Linked DNA regions of Homo sapiens: all the other regions are linked to region 1. Evidence: promoter capture Hi-C in 16 types of primary human blood cells and fetal thymus (Javierre and others, 2016). All regions are on one chromosome and are shown on one strand. The core of a region is centred on a gene start or on the middle of the fragment in contact, and the rest is flanking DNA. Distances in the headings are between cores, read along the strand shown. Region 1 holds the start of VSIG4 (V-set and immunoglobulin domain containing 4). Region 2 overlaps MSN (moesin). Region 3 has its middle 91 kb from the start of MSN.

Evidence for each region. The method cuts DNA at HindIII sites, captures the fragments that hold promoters and counts their contacts. A CHiCAGO score of 5 or more calls a contact.
Region 2: a contact is called between a fragment that was not itself captured here and the fragment with the promoter of VSIG4 in region 1, in 10 of 17 cell types (activated CD4 T cells, M0 macrophages, non-activated CD4 T cells and 7 more). The highest score is 8.0, in activated CD4 T cells.
Region 3: a contact is called between a fragment that was not itself captured here and the fragment with the promoter of VSIG4 in region 1, in 6 of 17 cell types (neutrophils, M0 macrophages, naive B cells and 3 more). The highest score is 11.0, in neutrophils.

The regions. Positions count from the first base shown.
Region 1 is chrX:66,038,500-66,041,991 of GRCh38, reverse strand. VSIG4 (V-set and immunoglobulin domain containing 4) reads left to right here and starts at 1,912. Exons shown (of 8, transcript NM_007268.3): 1 at 1,912-2,048. The coding sequence starts at 1,994. The HindIII fragment of the contact is 1,000 bases long and covers 1,416-2,415 here.
Region 2 is chrX:65,716,796-65,720,287 of GRCh38, reverse strand. MSN (moesin) reads right to left here. Exons shown (of 13, transcript NM_002444.3): 2 at 3,387-3,470. Among named protein-coding and RNA genes, the nearest start is that of MSN, 51 kb to the right of the region's middle. The HindIII fragment of the contact is 4,651 bases long and covers 1-3,492 here.
Region 3 is chrX:65,756,748-65,760,239 of GRCh38, reverse strand. No RefSeq gene overlaps it. Among named protein-coding and RNA genes, the nearest start is that of MSN, 91 kb to the right of the region's middle. The HindIII fragment of the contact is 6,653 bases long and covers 1-3,492 here.

The DNA.
Region 1 (3,492 bases), core at 663-3,162:
GAAATAACCCATGCAAGGTGCTTAATTCAGTGACTGGAAGAGTAAAAGATTTTAAATAGCAACTATCATTATATAGTTGTTATTGTATGTATAGTATAGTTTGATTTTTATAAATCTGAAAAGATACAAGCATCAAGTATAATTATGTTCATGTTACAATTAGGGAAGCTGAGGTTCAGAGAGATTTGACTTGTTCAAGATCTCAGAATGAAGTAGACACAGAGCCAGGCTTATCTCCAGGTTTCTGACTTCTCATCCAATTCTTTTACTAATCAAGAGGGCTACTGAGCCTACTGCAAGACTGGAAGTCTTTCCCAGCCTTGAAGTAATGTTGTGCATACTCCCCAGGACATTTATTTATCTTCAGATCCAGGAGGTCCTAATAAAATGCAAGAGGTAGCACAAAACACACAATCACCTGGCCAGGCAGAAATTTACATCTGTCCAGTGGGCTTTTTAGCGGGGAAGGGGAGGGGTGTGTGTGTGTGTATGTGTGTGCGTGTGTGTGTGTGTGTGTGTGTGTGTGTCTGTGCGGTGGTGGTGGTGTAGTGGTGATAGGGTGTTGGTTGAAAAATATCAAAGGAGGGTTCTGTGAAGTTCAGGGTTTCCTGAGTGAGGACCCGGTGGGAAAAAATGGCTGAAATTTCCAGTGAGATGGAATGAGTGCAGTACTCAAAAAACAAGGAACAACCAGCCAAGGGGGATTGGGCCCTAGAGGCAGAGGTGATTGATAGAATTCCATGTAATAATGTGTCCTGAAATGCTGGAATGTCTCCTTAGCCCGTGCACAGCTCCAAATCATCTGCATGCAGCCACCCCTTGGCAAGTATGTTTCTTTATATTCCCACTCCCCATCTCTGCACAAACTCCTCCCTCCCCTGACCAAGTCCTTTCCTATCCCTCCAATCAAAGAGTAAACTAAGCTTAGCTGTTACTTACAGTGCAGTATGAATTTTTGGGATGTATTTGTGCTTTTGAAAGTGCTTATTGTTTCAAAGCTTAGTAGACAAAGCGCAGTGCCAAACCTAGTTAGACTGCTGATGAAATTACAGTCACTCTGGGGCCTGTGAAGAGGAGCAATTTCTGGAGCAGTTGAGCTTTGCTAGGAGGCATAATATTACTCTCTTGTAGGTCAAGGGCCTGTACCAATTGGAAGTCAATGAAAAATTCAACCTAATACAGCATACCACTAATGGGCTGCTGCACTGGAGGCTAGGCTTAAATTTCCCTTAAAAGAAGTAAAAAATAAATTCCTTATGAAAAAGCATGGAGAACATTAATGAAAATGAATTCTCCCTTACCATCAGAGAGGTGGAGCCATTGTAGAAAGTGATTCAAAGAGCTTCCCCAATATGAGATATGAGGCATATTCACCCATAACAGCCTTATCCATTGGCTTGTCAATTATTCAAGCTTTGATGTGTAGAAAGCCCTTTAATACACTAAACTCTTGTACTCTTAAGCCCAAAAGCACCCCGGGCCCAACACCCTGTCCAGTTGCATAGGCTGCACAGGCAAGGGTTAACAGTACAACTAATGAAAATTGGGTAGGTCAGCAAAGTTGATCTCTTCTCCCTGGGCTCACCACAAAGGAAAACACCGCCATACTGGAGTGGGAAGACTCATCCCAAAGGTCGCCCCCACAACCTCTGAATCTTGTGGAGGAGACTCAAAATAAATACAGCCTAGGAGATCAAAGACCAGAAAGCCCCATTGGCTCCAAGGAAAGTCAAGTCAATACCCTAGCAGGGGGAAGAATTGCTTCACTCATCCTGGAACCTCCAACCCCAAGGAGGTGGGGGAAGGGGGGCACCCCACATGACCTGTACTGAAATAGGGAAGGAAGGGGAATGTGTGATGGGACTAGGAGTTTGAGTGAGAGATATAGGGAAGGAAGGGAAGTAAGCAGTCACAGACGCTGGCGGCCACCAGAAGTTTGAGCCTCTTTGGTAGCAGGAGGCTGGAAGAAAGGACAGAAGTAGCTCTGGCTGTGATGGGGATCTTACTGGGCCTGCTACTCCTGGGGCACCTAACAGTGGACACTTATGGTAAGGCAGAAAGGGGGGCCTGGCTGCCATTGCTGGCTTAGGCAAAAGGCTAGAGGGTTGGTGTTTAATGTCTACTATGGAAAGCCTATTCCTACTGGGCAGGTGAGTCTTCTCAGCCAAACTCTGCAGGCTCTCTCAGCCTTGAGCAAAACGGATGGATGTAGTTGAAGGCTGCTGAAGAAGCCAGAAGGCAAGTTTGGGCAGAAATTGAAAAAGGATTTTTCTCTTGGAAAACATCTGCATTATTTTCTAGGGCTTGTATCTCAGGGGCATCAAGAAGGTTCCCAATGACATCCGAATCTTTCCTCCATCTGCTGTCTCTCATCTAAAATTCTACAATTGGACTTAACCACTCTGCTTCCAAGCTTTGGTCTCTGTTAAAATATACAGCCCCCGAAGAAGGAGTGTTTTCTAAGAGTTGGATAGGACTATAGAAGTAACCTATACCACCCTTCATTGTCATGAATAAGTGCTCAGAAACATCCAGTAGTGATTGAGATTTCACTGTTCACTACCTCCCCAGACCATCTAGTCCATCCAGGAGCAGCTCCAACTGTTAGAAAGTTCTTATTTGTGTTGAACTAAATCCAGTTCCCTCTGACTTCCATCCAAAAACCCCAGCTTTGCTTCTTGGGGCTACACAGAACATAGATGCTTCCTTGCCCTGTGATAGCCCTTCAAAGCCCTGAGGACAAGTACTATGTCTCCTTGACTCTTCTCTCCTCCAAGCTGAACAGCCCCAGCTTTTTCAACTGGTCTTCATAGGACTTGGTTTCTTACCCATTCCTGGGATAACTCACTTCCCTATAGACATGGCTCAATTTGTCTGGGCTATTTATGGGCTGGATACAAATCCCAAAGGAGGATGGACTATTCCATAGTGGCATTATTTCCTTGGAGCTTGGGAAGCTCTATCCTCATCTACACTCCTGAGAAGTGAGATGGATTTTCAGGAAACTCAACCTGGGTAACAGCTAAGTGAGATCCAATATAGGGTAAAGGGGGATTTTGCTGCTTCCCTATCATCCCTAGAGAAAAAGGCTGGATAGGTGTTAGCTTGGTGTCACTTGTTAGGTCAGAAAGAATCCAGCTTTCCGTAGCTGACTCTGATTAGGTTACCCTATCCTGGGGCTCTGTGACCCATCACACTCTGGAACCTCAGAGTTAGAAAAGACTCTGAATTAAGTCAACCAAGAGAAAAAATAATTTGCCCCCAAGCCAAAGAGCATTAGTGGCAGAGTTAATGCTCCTGAAAAAACATTTTTCTTTCTATAACTACCACATTTCCATTCTCTAGCAGGTTTTATAATGTATCTCTCTACCTTCTCCAAGTCTGTTGGTTTGAGCTAGGGCTTAAGCCTGGGGCTTGAGGGAGCATTTTAGAAATGTTAAATTTAAATCCTTTGTTTGTGTGTGTGTATGTGTGTGTGCATTCATGTGTGTG
Region 2 (3,492 bases), core at 659-3,158, 320 kb after region 1:
GTGCAGGAAAAGTATAGTTTTGTGATCAGAGTTGTATTCAAAATTCCATATCACAACTTACTAACTACATGACCTAGAGTATGTTCTTTCACCTCACAGAGGCAGGAGCATTGTGAGGATTAAAGCGCCTAGCCAGGAATAGGCCATAGTATGTGCTCAATAAATGATACTTCTCAAGATAACAATGATGAGAAGTCATGGACTTCTTGGTTTCCAAGTCTCCCAAAGGCTTTGTTTTGGAAGCAGTAGCATTCAGAACTAGCATACCAATCTGCCCAGGGTTCCCTACTATCTGGGGTTCCCTACTATCTGGACTTCCCTCAAATCCACACCCACAGCACACAAACCAAACCAACACTAACAAAAAACTACCAGGCATTGAGGTTTTTTGAAGTTAATAAACCTCTTTGTTCAAGAATTTTTCTGCCCCCACTAGGCTCCAAATCATGCCTTCCTCATCCTCCACAGCCATCCCCCTGCAATGCACATATACAAAGCCCCCAGTGTTGAGGGTAGAGGATGGCGTCATCTGGTTTGGGATGGGGAATTAGTAGAATCAGGGCTCTTGGAAGGAGTATAGGTAAATGTCAAAGGAGCCTCTGGCTCCCAGCTGGTCTGTAAAATCTGCACTGACTAACCGCTTCCCTCTCTAATAGCTGCTACCCAGAATGATACTGCTGTCTAAAGCAAAGGGCCCAAAAGCCTATGTGTTCTATGGACACTTCCTCCCTTTTGTCTTAGAGACAGTAAAAAGCCTGTCAAGGAAGAGATGATCCCCCTGCCAGCTAGCCCTACCTCCTCACATATGCCAGCAGCTGATCATACTCAGGTGAGGCATTTCTCTCCTTTTTACAGAAAAGGATTGTCTGAAATCCCAATACTAGGAACAGAAATGGGAGAGAAAGAGAGATGGAATGCACAAATAAATGCCAGAGATAAATTTTCTGAGAGATAACCAGATTTGAGAAACAAGTTAGGCATTGTACAGATGAGAAACTGAGGCCCAAATAAGGGAAACGTTTGTATCACAGCGAATTAGTGATAGAGCCAACCCTACAGCCCAAGATTCATGACTTTCTATCCAGGCCCTTTTGACTTCACTAGGCTGTCCCTTTAAAAGTTCTCCAATATAACCTCCATGTGAAGAGAGAATGCAAAGCACAATTATAATTAGAATGCATTTAGTCATTCCAGACTAGCACCATAATCACTTGTGAGCTATGTGAATGTAAGCACATCACTTTAATTGTAGTAAACTTGTATTTAAATATTCCTCAGACTAATTTGTATTTTCACCAATTAAGTATCAATGATTACACTTTGCCATTCAAAGTAAAACAAACACAAAACAAACTCCAGAGAAGTAAGTTCCACCTAAATCTGAAGTTAGATATTCTGAGGATCATTAAGCCCATCTCCCAATTCTCCCAATTCTAGATTATTTTTCTTTACTTTTTTTTTTTTTTTTTAGAGACAGAGTCTTGCTCTGTCACCTAGGCTGGAGTACAGTGGCGTGATCATAGCTCACTGTAACCTTGAACTCCTGGGCTTGAGCAACCCTCCTGGCACAATCTCCTGAGTAGCTGGGACTATAGGTGTGCACCACCATGCCATGCTAATTTTTAAATTTTTTGTAGAGACAGGGTCTCGCTGTGTTACCCAGGCTGGTCTCGAGCCCCTGGGCTCAAGCAATCCTCCCATCTCAGTGTTAGGATTACAGACATGAGCCACCACATCACGTCAACTCCAGCTCAATTAATAATACAAGAAGCACAATGGTATTGGAAAGGGAGCTATCATTTATTACTTCTCTACCATATGCTGGATGCTTTCTTCCAGCTAACACTTTCTTTCCTATTTGTGTTTTCTTATCTTTCTCACCTATTTCGAATTTATCTTTTTGGATTGGACATCCTTATATGCCACTATAATCAGATTTTTGAGTAACAGGTAAGATACAAAACATAACACACTCACAAAAATCCTGTGAGGTAAGTATTAGATATTTCTCGGGGGGAGGGGATGAAGATACCAACCCAGAGAGTTCAATAATTTTCCCAGGGTCTAACTAGGAAAATGAGGATTTTGTGTCCTCATCTGTAAAACATGCCCATACTAATTCATGCACTCACAGAGCTTTGTGATAGTCAAATGCTTATCATAATACTTAGCATACACTGAGTCCTGGATAAATGTTAACTCTCATCTGTATTAGCCACAGACAATAATTTTCCCACTCTATGTAATAAGAACTCAGAAGGTGTACCCAAGCTGTCCTCAAATTTCTAGCCCTCTCCTACCCCTGTCTCCATTCTACTCTTGTCTTTTCTCTCACCAGTCAGAAGTATTCACAGGAATAGAATTAGCTTATTTGAACACTACCTCCTTCTTTTTTTCTTCCTCTCTCCAACCCTGGGGAAGTTCTCATATGGTAGAAGGACACAGAGAGCAAGGAAGAAAGGGAAGCAAGAGGGCCTGGAGAATCCATCAGGGTGATATGCAGCCTAACATCCTGGACAATAACTCAGACCTCCACTTCATCGGAGTCTGGTGGAGAAATAGGATAATGGCCTGTCTGGTGAGGTCCCAGCCTCTGGAAATGGGAGCCTCATTTTTGCTCCTAGAAGTCTGGCCACAGACGGCACATTCCCTTGAATGCTAAAAATGTCTGTAGCTGCCATCTGTTTATTATAGTATACAGTACATCCTTTCTGACAATAATGATTCACAATGAAGGGACACCCCTTGGGTTGGAGATGGGAATGACCTCTTCACTATGGCGAGTAAGCAATTATCTTCATGGCATGCCTGTAGGAGATGAAGCAGCCTCCTACTGCATCCATCAACTCCCATGTTGTCCTAAGTCCCAACATTCTTTTGAGAGAAATGTGCATAGAGCTTACTACCTCAGGGAGAGTAAGTTAGTTTCCTTCTACTAGGAAGCAAAAACATGGGACAGAGGCAGTGTGGTGCAGTGGCAACAATGTGGAGTGCAAATCCCAGCCAAATATCATTTGGGTGCAATTAAGTTATTTAACTTCTGAGCCTCATCATTAAAATGGAGAAGACATCACTTACATGTTTCAGAGTTAAAAGGAAGGCTCCATATGCTAAGATTTTTAAAGCATCTAGCATAGAATATACACCATTTTCTTTTCTCCCTTATTCAGGACCAAAGATAAAATTAATCAGGACCATAGGGTGCAGGCTGCCAAAGTTTAACTTTGCCTCCTTTCATATTAAGTCTGGAATCAGCCTTCATTTTGATCTATCTTGGAGTGAACAGGAAGAGAGATTCTTTGACAAGAGGCAAAAGTCATGGATTGTTGGCATTGTGGTGGAAGCTATTCAGAGAAGGAGAGGAGGCTAAGGAGTCTCCGCCTTACCTGGTCAAATAGCTGCTTCCCGGTGGTGTTGGGCTGGATGGCAAACTCCAGCTCTGCATCCATGGTGGTCACACGCACACTGATCTAGGATGAGATCAAAGGAAGC
Region 3 (3,492 bases), core at 529-3,028, 280 kb after region 1:
GCAAAGGATATGAACAGACACTTCTCAAAAGAAGACATTTGTGCAGCCAAGAAACATATGAAAAAAGGCTCATCATCACTGGTCATTAGTGAAATGCAAATCAAAACCACAATGAGATACCATCTCACACCAGTTAGAATGGCAATTATTAAAAAGTCAGGAAACCACAGATGCTAGAGAGGATGTGGAGAAATAGGAATGCTTTTACACTGTTGGTGGGAGTGTAAATTATTTCAACCATTGTGGAAGACAGTGTGGTGATTCCTCAAAGATCTAGAACCAGAAATACCATTTGACCCAGCAATCCCATTACTGGACATATACCCAAAGGATTATAAATCATTTTACTATAAAGACATATGCACACGTATGTTTATTGCAGCACTATTCACAATAGCAAAGACTTGGAACCAACCCAAATGCCCATCAATGACAGACTGGATAAAGAAAATGTGGCACATATACACTATGGAATACTATGCAGCCATAAAAAAGGATGAGTTCTTGCTGTTTGCAGGGACATGGATGAAGCTGGAAACCATCATTCTCAGCAAACTAACACAGGAACAGAAAAGCAAACACCACATGTTCTCACTTATAAGTGGGAGTTGAACAATGAGAACACATGGACACAGGGATGGGAATATCACACACTGGGGCCTGTCAGGAGGTGGGGGGCTAGGGGAGGGATAGCACTAGGAGAAATACCTAATGTAGATGACAGGTTGATGGGTGCAGCAAACCACCATGGCAAGTGCATACCTATGTAACAAACCTGCACCTTCTGCACCTATATCTTAGAACTTAAAGTACAATAAAAAAAGAGTCCATAGTAGTCCCATTCTACCCAGAGAAATCATTTTTCCAGCCAATCTGCCTAACAAAAAGTAATAAAAGAAATGCATGAGCCCCAAATTCTCCAGCTTGTTGGTGGCTTGCTTCATAATAATAATGATAATTTGATTTAGTATGTATCTTCCTGCTCCTATGCTGTCAGACGTCCCTTCTCTTCTTTGGTGGCTCAGTGCCACTAAATACATTTTGAACACTTATTTGTTTAGACCTGCTGGGGATCACATTTTGTTTTGTTGAGCAGATCTTTCCCTGTGCTGCTTTCCCTGAGTTGAGAGCCAGCCAACAAATTTGAAGCCCCCTCACCATCTGTTCCAATTTTTATATCTGCGTTGTTGGGCATCAATGAAAAGGCGAAAGTGCCACTGTGCCCCCAGGGACAGGGTAACAGTGGAATCACCTGGATGCTGCCTGATCTTATGCCAGACAACAGAAAGCACTTAGGCCACGTAGTTTTCACCCCAAATAAGAGCTTCAATTCAGAAGCATTGAACACATAAGGGTTCTGACATTGTCTGTAGATAATAAAGTAGTATTAGAGATTGTTGGGGGTGGGGACTGACTGGATAACTTTGAGGATTCTAGGCCTTTGGGTCTGTTTCATGTATGCTTGGTGTCAGCTTCTGCTACCTTTCTTTTTGAGTCACCGATGCCCATCCACCTTCCCAACCTGCTGTCTCATTCTTTTGAAATTATCCTAACCACTAAACCACCATGGACAATTCTTTTTTTAACAAAGCATGTTTTTTATTGTGGTAAATTATACATAGCATAAAATTTACCATTTTGAATGTACAATTCAGTGACTTTAAGTGCATTCACAATGTTGTGTAATCATCACCACTCTATTTCCAGAACTTTTTCATGATCTCAAACAGAAATTCTAATCAGTAAGCAATAACTCTCCATCCACATTCCCCATCCTCTGATAACCTTTTTTCTACTTTTTGTCTCTATTAATTAACCTATTCTAGATATTTCATATAAGAGGACTCATACAATATTTTCATTTGTGTCTTGCTTACTGTTTTTTAAGGCTCATCCATGTTATAGCATGTTTCAGAACTTCATTCATTCTTAAGGTTGAATAATATTCCATTATATGTATGTATCACATTTTGTTTATCTATTCGATTGTTGATGAACTCATGGGTTGTTTTCACCTTTTAAGGATTGTGAGTAATGCTGCCATGAACACTGGTGTACATGTCCCATTCTTGAACAAATCCCAACCTAGCCTTAAGGTAGGTCAGTGACCTCATACAGTAGGATTGTGACTTAGTTTAGACATGTTATTGGGGTGAGTTCTGAGCAACTTAAAAGCATGTGAGTAACAACTACCTTCTCTCCTTCGGTCCATACTAACCTTCTCCCTCAGTATCGGTTAAAACTAAAATAATTACCTAAATAATTCAGAAATTCCACTCCTAGAAATAGACCCAAAAAAATGAGTGTACAGGACCATTAAAATACCTATATCAGAATATTCCCAGTAGCTTTATCCATAATAGGCAAAAACTGGAGCCAGCCCAAACGTCCATCAAAAGGAGACTATTCCAGGTCACTGGAATACAACTTGGCATACTGTAACATGGATGAATCTCACAGATATTATGTTGAGGAAAAGAAGCCAAACACAAAAGAGGACATACTGTATATAAAGTTTATACAAAGTTTATATACAAACATACTATATATAAACTTTATATAACCTCTTTATAGTTTAACATATTGTATATAAACATTATATAAACTTAATATAAAGTTTATATACAAACTTACTGTATATAAACTTTTAATACAAAGTTTATATACAAACTTACTGTATATAAACTTTATATAACCTTTATATGAAGTTCAAAAAAGGCAAAACAAATCTATGATGACAGAGGTCATCAATTGCTACCTCTTGGGGGAAGGCATTGATGGGAGAGTCATGGAGAAGTTTGGCAGTTTTTTACAAAACTAAACATACTCTTACCATACAATTCAGGAATCATACTTCTTGGTATTTAGCCAAATGAGTAAAAACTTATGTCTGTGCAGAAAAAGGTACACAGATGTTTATAGCAGCTTTATTCATAATTGCCAAAACTTAGAAGCAACCAAGATATCCCTTCAATAGGTAAATGAATAAATAAACTGTGGTACAACCACATAATAGAATATTATTCAGAGGCAAAAAGAAATGAGCTATCAAGCAATGAAAAAACATGGAGGGACCTTAAATGCATATTACTAAGTGAAAGAAACCAACCAAAAAAGGTCACGTACTATACAATTCCAACTATATGACATTCTAGAAAAAACAAAACTACAGAAACAGTAAAAAGATCAGTGGGTGTCAGGGGTTAGGGAGAGGGAAGGATGAATAGGTGAAGTGCAAATGATTTTAGGGCAGTGAAAATACTCTGTGTAATTCTATGATGGTGGATACATGTTATACATTTTTCAAAGCCCACAGAATGCACAACACCAAGAGTGAACCCTGATGTAAACTATGGACTTTTAGTGATAATGAGATGCCAAGGTAGTTTCATCAGTTGTAACAGATAAACCACTCTGTTGTGAGATATTGATAAAGTAGGAGGGTATGCATGTGTGGGGGCAAAGTATATAGAAACTCTATATTTTCACTCA